Linked DNA regions of Homo sapiens: region 1 is linked to region 2. The links are contacts of gene promoters, found by promoter capture Hi-C in blood cells and fetal thymus (Javierre and others, 2016). All regions are on one chromosome and are shown on one strand. Each heading gives the region's core, a stretch centred on a gene start or on the middle of the fragment in contact. The rest is flanking DNA. Distances are from core to core; before and after follow the strand shown.

Region 1 (4,687 bases), core at 433-2,932, 260 kb before region 2:
ATTCTCCTGCCTCAGCCTCCCTAGTAGCTGGGACTACGGGCACCCGCCACCATGCCCGGCTAATTTTTTGTATTTTTAGTAGAGACATGGTTTCACCGTGTTAGCCAGGATGGTCTCGATCTCCTGACCTCGTGATCCACCCGCCTCGGGCTCCCAAAGTGTTGGGATTACAGGCGTGAGCCACCGCACCTGGCCGTTTGTTTTGTTTTAAGCCATCAGGCCACTGTATGTGACAGAGTATCTGTGTACTTACCCACACAATTGCCCCACACTCACTCCACACATTCTGCTCACTCCACACATTCTACTCACTCCACATATTCAGGTACAGACCTGATAGGCTGCAAATGTACTGCTTCTGATTCTCAACCCTGGCTGTGCACACTGCCAGCACCCGGAGAGCCTTAAACAGTCTGGATTCCTGGATGCCAGACCCCCAGAGGTTCCAATTTAATTGTTCTGGAGTGGTTGCAGGCATCAAGACTTTAAAAATGCTTCCTAAGTGAGCCAAATGGGCAAAAAATCATGTTCATAGTGGATTCCTTTTAATAATAACATAAGGCCAGGTGCAGTTGCTGTAATCCTAGCACTTTGGGAGGCTTCTTTGGCAGGAGGGTCATTTGAGCCCGGAAGTTTGAGACCAGCCTGGGCAACATAGTGATACCCAATCTTTACAAAAAATTTAAAAGTTAACCAGGCATAGTGGCACACACCTGTAGTCCCAGCTATTTGGGAGGCCAAGGTGGGAGGATCATTTGTGCCTGGGAGGTGGAGGCTGCAGTCAGCCATGATCGCACCACTGCACTCCAGCCTGGGAAAAGAGTGAAACCTTATCTCAAAATAATAAAAATATAACATAACTATATAGTGTTTGATTTTATTAAATTTGTTTGTTAACAAACAAATTAAATTTGTGAGACTTGCCCAGTTGTGAAAGGCCAAGCCCCTGAAACTACTGATATCCTTAAAGAGTTTATATTTTTACATATTTTCATTTTATTAAATATGTATTTTATTTTATCATTTATAGTATAATATTAAAAAATTTAAAGAGTTGGGAGACTATTTCTAGTTAAAAAAATTTCTAAAACAAAATGTCCATTTAAGCACACTACTATTATATTCTTAAATTGGTGGAAACAATTCTAAATAGTCCAGCACAGTTCATTCATATAATGGAAAGGCAAGAGCTCAGGGATCTATTCGTGTTTCATTAATTATAACTTTAACCGTTTCGTTTCCTTACCATTTACATTGTTGAGCTCTGTGAGGGCAGGAGCTATTATTGTCTTCACTGTTTTGTTCTCAGTGACAAGGACAGTGCCTGCCATAGAGTAAGTGTTCGATCAAATCACGTTGCTTGACTGCCAACTTATAATCTGGAATAATTTTCCAAAATCTGAGATGTGCCTATGAAGAAGGGTCAGCTGAGTAAATCTGTGATGTCCATGAGAATTCCTAGAGAGTGATTAACCACCACTCAAACACTTTAATAGCTTCTACTTTGTAAATCTGGGATACTTCCAAATGAATCCAAGAGATTCATTTTTTCAAAAGGCCTAGGTCAAACCTCTGTTTATTCCCCAAACTGAACCAACAGCGTGGGAGTGGCAGAATTACAACCACTTTAAGAACTTCGTCGTGCCATTTCCCTAGTTCAAATTTGACCCTCTCTCCATTCATACCCAACAAAGGAGACTTGCCTAGTTGTGAAAGGCCAAGCCCCTGAAACTACTGATATCCTTAAAGAGTTTATAAGCAACCAGAAAGAAGAACGTGTGTGTTCATGTAGGATAATATATCTGATTGATTTCTAGGAAAAGGGCAGGCTGTCTGCATTAAACAAAGGAACAGTGTAAAAAAAAAATGACAATATTGCTTTGTTCTTACATTTGCCCTCTCAATTAAACGGTCAAACAGCCTAGTGAGGTGCTATTGCTTCTCAACTTATGATCAGAGTTTAGGTTCAGAGAAATCCCCCAGGCAGGGTTTGAATTAGTTGGGTCCCCACCACATGCCCCATCCAGTTCCTGCTCCTAGCAGCACAATTGCCTTTATTTTATTTTATTTTATTTTATTTTATTTTATTTTAAAGACAGGATCTTGCCCTGTTGCCCAGGCTGGAGTGCAGTGGTGCTATCACAACTCACTGCAACCTCGACCTCTTGGACTTAAGCAAATCTCCCGCCTCAGCCTCCCAAGTAGGTGGGACCATAGGTGCATGCCTGGATATTTAAAAAAAATTTTTTTTTGTAGAGATGGGGTTTCACTGTGTTGCTCAGGCTGGTCTCGAACTCCTGGCCTCAAATGATCCAACCAACTCGGCCTCCCAAAGTGCTGGGATTACAGGTGTGAGCCACTGTGCTCAGCCCTACAATTGCCATTATTACTGAGTTCCTCCTCACTCCCTTATGGTCTTGAACTTGGTCTCCACCTTACCAAGCACCTTTCTGACCTTTGCCTGGCCTCGCAGCTTGGCCTCAAGGCTCTCTAGGCTGAGATCACCCTCTCCCCAGATCTTTCCAGTCTCCTCTTTGATTCACCTTTGATCTCAAATTCCAGGGCCTCAGGAAGGCCTCCCCTGATCGCTGCCCCAATCCCGTCCCTTAGACACTTTCCACATTGCATGATTTCATCTTCTTTGAAGCACTTTACATGTCATGTGATTAGTGTGTTTATTTGTTTTCCAGCCTGACTTCCAACTGACTGTAAGGTTCGTGAAATCAGAGACTCTGTCTGTCCTGTCCCTGCAATATTCTCAGTGCCTAGAACGAACTGTTCCTGGCTGATAAATATTTGTTGAGTAGATGAATCACTTCCGCTGATCTCAGCTCTAGTACTGATAATATGGCCTTTGCTTTATAATTTTCTGTGTCATCCTACTCTCTTAATGATAAGACATATTCTTATGCCAGCTGAGTACCCTTTTTTAGTTACAGGGTCCTCAGTTGCAGGAAATCACATTTTGGTCATAGGAATCCAGTCCCCTCTACTTGACTCTGAACTTTATCACTTCTGAGTTTTCATAAGAGCTTCATGTCATCTTTCTTGGTTTCCCTGTCTAGGGTGACCAGACATTTACTGGGACACCTGTTTTCCTGGTGTAATATTTACAAGTTCCATCTTCCACTCTCGAAGTATTCCTATTTGGGGTATAAATTATAAGGTCTCCTACCAAAACCTGATCCCCAAATTCGAGCTCAGTAATATTGTCTCTTTGTACTTGATGTCCTCCAGAGTTCCTTCAGCTCTCTATTTGGCCATTTTCTTCTGTTTCTTTAAAAATAAAAAAATACAGTATAACTACATTAAAGATATTTTTTAAAAGTTAAAAACGCCCATGATCCTAGTCCCTTAATACAGCTGTTTTCATTTACACATATTGAGATCTCATCCTTTTTGTTGACACAGGGTCTCACTCTATTACCCAGTCCAGAGTGCAGTGATGTAATCAGGGCTCACTGCAGCCTCAACCTCCTGGGCTCAAGTGATCTTCCCACCTCAGCCTCTAAAGTAGCTGGGTGCAAGCTACCACGCCTGGCTAATTATTTTTATTTTTATTTTTATATTTTGTAGAGACAGGATCTCACTCTGTTGCCCAGCTTGGTCTCAAGTCATCCTCCTGCCTTGGCCTCCGTATGTATTGGGATTACAGGCATGAACCATCCCACTTGGCCATCTCATCCTTTTGAACAAACATGCATACTTATTTTTACAAAATTTCAATCATAGTACACATACAATTTGTATTTTGCTTTCTGTCATAACTTTGTCACATCTACATAGTCAACATAATTTTTAATGACTGCATCATCAAATTGATTATCCACAATTTACTTAAAGTGGTCTTCTAATGCTGGACATCTTGGTTGCTATCAAATTGTCACTATTAAAAATAATGCTGAGATGAACATCGTGATGCACACTGGGTTTTGTCTCTGTTCAGTGATTTCCTTGGAGAAATTCCTAGGAATGAAATGAATGAGGCAAAGGAGGCATTCAATCTTCCCAGTCCTGAGAAGTATTACTGAAAAGGGGTCATATCAAGTATATAATGTCACCACTAGCGAATGCTTCTATCCATTTCACTACAACCTCACTGGCATTTAGGTGTTATAATTTTAAATAATTTACTTGTTGCCAATTAGCTTGATGAAGGCTTCTTAATTTCATGTTAATGTTACAGGTTGTCAAGTATTAAGGAGAAAGAACAACTTTCCATGTGTCTTTCTCCTTAGTGTAGCGTTCTCAACTAGGACTGATTTTGCCTTTCCAGGGACATTTAGCAAGTTCTGGAAATATTTTTGGTTATCAAACTAAGCAGGGTGAGGGGGTGTTCTACTGGCATCTTGTGGGTAAATTTTACATTTTACAAGGCACAGGACAATCCCCAACAACAAAGAATTATCGGACTCGAAGTATCAGTTCCACTGGGGTTGAGAAACCCTGCCTTAGTGTGTATCGTTTTCATAATCAGAATAGGAAATTAGGGTATTTTCATTTTGGTAGGAAAAATATTATGTAAGCTTTCTGTTCATTGCCTCTGCCCACTTGTCTATTGGAGTCCTGATGTTTTGCTTTATAAGAGTTTCTTTCTGTAGCATAAATATTAAACCTTCATTTCTTTAATTTGATGCAAATATTTTCCCCAATATGTCACTGCCCTTTCTAATTTTGGATTACAACT
Region 2 (5,447 bases), core at 2,171-4,670:
AAAGAGCACAAGGTTGGTCGCATTCAACTTAAATGCTTTTATTGACAATGTCTTGGAACAATAAGCAAACAATGCTTAAATTTTTCATTCAAATTCACTTTCCACATGTCAAAAGACCTCAAGGTAGAAAAAAATAAAATAAAAATATAAATATCTGAGAATCCATCTTAATAAATAAATTAAAAACACAATAAAACGTTTTCATGGAAAACTGTTAATGTCAGAACATTCAGACCACCTCAACAATGCATGATCAGTAACATTACAATGAACATTGATGTTGAAGAAAAACTACAGTACATGGATATAGCTATTTATTTCTATCTACCAGAAAATAAAGTCGTATCTTTTCTTAGTATAATATTGGTCATTTCTAATCAGAACACACTATTGCCAGGAACACAGTAGTTATTGTTAAAATCAGCTGCACTAGATACAATTTGAAAATATCCAGCACCAGGTTAATTCCAATAATGAACCCAATAGATTAGTTAATGCTATGAGAAGACTAAGGAGAAAGAGAAAAGAGACACAGACCCAGGCCTGGCTCAACATGCTACTAACTACCAGCTCTCTGAAGTGTCACTGGGAACAATACACACTCCATGCGTTTTGCTACATCTCCGGAAGAGGTAAGGACTTGAGTCCACACATGGATGCTTTCAAGTCCTTGAGGCCCACAGCCTGGTGTGTTTCACGCACAGATAAGGTCCTCCCTAGGTCTACAGGAACCCTCTAGGGAAGATGTGTTTCTCCTCTCTGTAATGCACCAGCTCGGGCAGTGGCACTTGTGGGTGCCGGCTGCCTCCCCTTCCCTGCCCCCTCACAGGGCCAGCAGCGTGGGTGAGCTGAGCGAGTCAGAGGAAGGCTCATTGCTGCTGCTGCCCTTGCGGTGGGCAGCTGCACAGCTGGGGAAGGAGTCAGCCTCGGGGTAGGTGAAGACGAAGGAAGACGTGTAAGCAGTGCAGCTGGGAGTACAGGTGACCACCGGAGTGCACAGGGGCTCCAGCTCTGTGGCCATGGGCCCCATCCCCAGGGAGCCACTGTGCAGAGGCTCCCAGTCTGCTGCATAGAAGGACCCAGATAGGTCCATGTCTGGCACGGAGCGGGCTGTCTCAGAGCCACTGGGCCTGGATGATGCTGGGAACAGGAAGTCATCAAAGGGCTCGGTCTTCAGCTCCATGCTGCTGATGCTCTTGACAGGTTCCACTGAGGGCTTGGGCTCAGGGTCATTGAGGAGAGGCAGGGTGAAGGCCTCCTCAGACTCCGGGGTGGCAACCTCTGGCAGGCCCCCAGTCAGATCAAGGGAAGCCACAGACATCTCTTCTGGGAAGCCCAGGTCATCAGGGATCTTGCAGGCAGGTCGGTGAGCTGCCAGGATGAACTCTAGTTTTTCCTTCTCCTTCAGCAGGTTGGCAATCTCGGTCTGCAAAGCAGACTTCTCATCTTCTAGTTGGTCTGTCTCCTGTATACAGAGGGATAAAGGAAAGCATAAGACACAGTCTTACTCAAGGGCCCTTATGCTCAATCTCCAACTTTCCCCTTAAGTTTTAAAAAGGAGCAACCCACAGAGTACCTACCGCTTGGAGTGTATCAGTCAGCTCCCTCCTCCGGTTGCGGCATTTGGCTGCAGCCATCTTATTCCTTTCCCTTCGGATTCTCCTTTTCTCTTCTTCTTCTGGAGATAACTAGAATAATCACAAAAAAAGACCGACATTCAGTAAAAGTGTCTGCCATCACCTCCATTCACCCACCCCAGTAGAACTGGCTCCTGCAGCTTCCCTGCTTCCTGGCACCCCACTGTGAAACCATTTCTGACCTGCAGTTGCAGACTAGGTGTGACTTGCATTTAAAATAAGATCCTCAGCAAGAGAACAAAGAAGAGCCCAGTCTGAAAGCATGCGGTAAGAAACTTAGGGAAGAAACTATGAGAGTACTTCTTAGGGTGAGACTCAGAGTCTGAGTTGGGATGGAATGGGCTTGGAGCCAGGGCTCCCAGTTACGGATGTGCAGCCAGCCCCATCAGTGGCTTCATCCTCTGTACTGGGCTCCTGCATCTCCGGGGCTGCTTCCCACCCAGCCCCCACATTCCCAGGAAGAGTACGCTAGAGTTCCTCACCTGTTCCACCTTGCCCCTCCTGCCAATGCTCTGCGCTCGGCCTCCTGTCATGGTCTTCACAACGCCAGCCCTGGAGTAAGCCCCAGCGGAGGGGGCGGGGACTCCGAAAGGGTGAGGGGCTCTGGTCTGCGATGGGGCCACGGAGGAGACGAGGGCGGGCTGCACCAGCCACTGCAGGTCCGGACTGGTCGAGATGGCAGTGACCGTGGGAATGAAGTTGGCACTGGAGACGGCCAGGTCCGTGCAGAAGTCCTAGAACAAAACAGAAGGGGAAAGCCGACGTGAGCGAGCAGGTTCCGGACACAGGTGGGGCGAGTTCCCAGTGCCGCATGCAGCAGTGAAGAGAAACGATCCTGCCACGGACATTTCATCTTAAATGTCCCTCATCCTGGATGAAAGGTCTCCCCCTTTTCCTCCCAGGCATTCCGCAGCGCAGTGCCTGTCTCTTCCATCCTGCCGCTGCGTTCCCGTTATCCCTTCAGCATCACTTGCTTGAAAGGGGGTTTGTTATAAATATCCCTGACGTCTGCGCTGACGCAGGCGCCGCTCCGGAGTCTCCAGAATGAACTCGCTTTTTATCAATGAAACTGCCTTACACACCCGCCCGCTGCACCCTCCTCCCTCATCCCTCCTCCGTGCTCCAGGCTGCCGGGGGAGGGGGGATTGCCGCTTTCTGCCACCTCCCCGGAGAAGCCAGGCTCTAGTTAGCGAGTTTGTGCTTGGGACACGTCTGCTCCAGCTAATGTCAGAGATCCGTCCTGGAGTGCAGACCAGAGGTTGCTCAGAACGAACCTGCCTCCCGAAGGGGGAACCAATTCTTACTATGGCAAGCGTGCGTGCGCTCAGAGCAAGTCCCGAGCCCCCGAGCCGGCACCGCTCCGGCCACGGCAGCCTCCCTCCAGGCACAAGGGAGCCCCCTACTCATCTACTGGAGCGTCCCGCCCGGTGTCTCCTCCTCCGCGACCCCAAGCCCCCGGCCCCGCGGCGACGGGAAGCCAGCCTTACCTGCGCGTTGACAGGCGAGCCCATGCTGGAGAAGGAGTCTGCGGGTGAGTGGTAGTAAGAGAGGCTATCCCCGGCCGGGGACGCGCTGCTGCAGCGGGAGGATGACGCCTCGTAGTCTGCGTTGAAGCCCGAGAACATCATCGTGGCGGTTAGGCAAAGCCGGGCGAGGGGCCGAGGGGCGGAGACAGGTGGGCGCTGTGGAGCAGAGCTGGGTAGGAGCACGGTCACTGCTCGTTCGCTGCGCCGCGGCCGCCGGCTCAGTCTTGGCTTCTCAGATGCTCGCTGCAGATGCGGTTGGAGTACGAGGCGCCGCAGCCACTGCTTTTATAACAAGCGTTTTATGAATGAGTGTAAACGTCACGGGCTCAACCACGGTGGCGCCAGAGGGGTGGCGCGCGGGCCTGGGCGCTTCTGCGGCCGCCCGGCTGCGTCCCCAGCGCTCGCAGCTCCCTGCCCCCGCCTTGGCGCGTGTCCTAATCTCGTGAGCATTTCGCAGTTCCTGTCTCAGAGGTCTCGTGGGCCCCCCAAGATGAGGGGTTTCGGGGATGGCTCCCCCCAGGGCTACAGGGAAAGGCCGTGGAAACCTGCTGACGCAGATGTCCTAATATGGACATCCTGTGTAAGGGGGGAGGGATTGACGGGAACTGCTCGCGGGCTGCAGCCAACACCGAGGGTGCAGTGCGGGGGGAGGCGGGGGCCGCGGCTGGGGGAGGGGAGGCGGGAACGGCGCAGAATGAGAGAGAACATTCGCACCTGGTTCAATGCGGACCCTTGTTCCCGAGGTCGGGGGGGATGGGGCAGAGAGCGCCTTTTTACCCTTGTACGGAAACTGAAGACAGTTCTGAGGCTCAGAGATAGGAGAAACGGCATCGAGTACAGGACCCCGAGGACTTAAGCCTCGGCTCCCGAAGGAATGCGCCCCTACCCCCATCCCCAATTCTAGCCCTAATTCAGTGCAAAGCGTGGAAGCAGACCTTCATCCCCTAACCTCCAGCCCTCGGGCTCGAGCAATACTAGCACTGTTCCTGCGTTTGGAAGCAGAAAGTGGAGGATCCAAAATAAGAGAATACGATAACCTACTTTACGATACTGGGTACTTTATTTATTTATTTTTTTAAAGAAGACAGCGCATTTATTTATTTATTTTTCTCGGCCATGTGTGGGAATATTAAGGAAACTGTCAAATCCCTGAGACACCAGCAGATAAACACTGTGCAAAACCTACGTGCGAAGACATTTGAAGGGGGTGTCTGCCCGGTTCTGAGCTGGGCCCCAGGGGTAGGGAGTGCGAGGTGTGGTTATGTGGGCAGGGTGGTCAGTTCGGGATGACAAGGCGGGGTGTGCTTCCTGCGGGGAACTCAAATCTGCGCTGAGGGCTGGTTCGGTCCCGCCAGGAAGCTGTGCTTACGGGAGCCCGCAGCGGGTGATTTTCCAGCGCGGACTTGGAGGGTGGAGGACGGGGGCTGGAAGGACAGTGTCCAGCTGCGCCTGGGCGGAATACCTCGACTGCTGGGACCCCAGGAGCGGCTCCACGTCCTGGAACACGGGGCTTTGGGGAGGCAAGGTGCTCCAGAGTGTGCCACGCCCCCCAATCTCCTGCCCTGCTGCGTAGGACAGCCGGGGTCACGCTGCCGGGGCTCAGCCCCAGCGCGCTGGCCACCTCCAGGGCGCGAAGACGCATGTCCCCGCACAGCCCCGGTCTTCCCTTCTCCACTCTTCGGGCCCGGGGGTCGGGGCCCGCGGTGGGCACCTGGAGAGGGGCGAGGCAGGATGAGGCCGGCGGGCGGATAGTTCGGGGCGCGCGGGGAGCCGGACCGCAGACCTGCCTCCAGCCGCCGCGCCCGGGAGCCAGGAGATCCTGCTATAGATAGTAACAGGGAAGCGGCTGTTTACAGCAACACAGCGCCGCCAGGGCCGTCTCCAGGCAACGCCGCGCGGCCGGGCGCGCCGTCGGCCTGGCGAGGCCACCCTCCCTCCCAGCTCCCCTGGGCCGCGGCCTCCCCGGCCCGGCCGCGGCCGCTCCCGTCGCCTGACATCATCCGCCGGGTCCGGGGGCTGAGCGGCCCGCGCGAGGCTGTGCGCTAACCTCCATTCTTAGAGATCCAACCCGGCAGGAGCGGGGAGGGCAGGAGGCGGGGATTCGTGGAACTGGGCCACTTGCTATTTTTGCATTCCCTGTCACAGGCAGAGGTGAAAACAGAATTTCATCATTGTATGTCATTGGTTTATGTTGGTGGGAATTTAGGCGCTTTTTTTTCTCACTCATAAAAAGGGAGGGAAACGGAAAAACACACATAATACGTAAACACAGATTCCTTGGAGC

What was found. Contacts are between HindIII fragments. The CHiCAGO score rates a contact against its expected background, and 5 or more counts as called.
Region 1: a fragment that was not itself captured here is called in contact with the fragment with the promoter of FOS in region 2 in 3 of 17 cell types (activated CD4 T cells, total CD8 T cells and total CD4 T cells); the score reaches 9.2 in activated CD4 T cells.

Annotation. Positions count from the first base shown.
Region 1 is chr14:75,534,128-75,538,814 of GRCh38, reverse strand. All of the region lies in intron 2 of BATF (basic leucine zipper ATF-like transcription factor), which reads right to left. Among named protein-coding and RNA genes, the nearest start is that of BATF, 14 kb to the right of the region's middle. RefSeq lists a silencer at 1-175. The HindIII fragment of the contact is 5,692 bases long and covers 1-4,528 here.
Region 2 is chr14:75,276,801-75,282,247 of GRCh38, reverse strand. FOS (Fos proto-oncogene, AP-1 transcription factor subunit) reads right to left here and starts at 3,420. Exons shown (of 4, transcript NM_005252.4): 1 at 3,125-3,420; 2 at 2,120-2,371; 3 at 1,581-1,688; 4 at 18-1,465. The coding sequence starts at 3,265. The coding sequence ends at 824. RefSeq lists enhancers at 431-990, 991-1,550, 1,577-2,502, 3,089-3,148, 2,503-3,430 and silencers at 3,519-3,578, 3,929-4,018, 4,747-5,256. The HindIII fragment of the contact is 6,704 bases long and covers 1-5,447 here.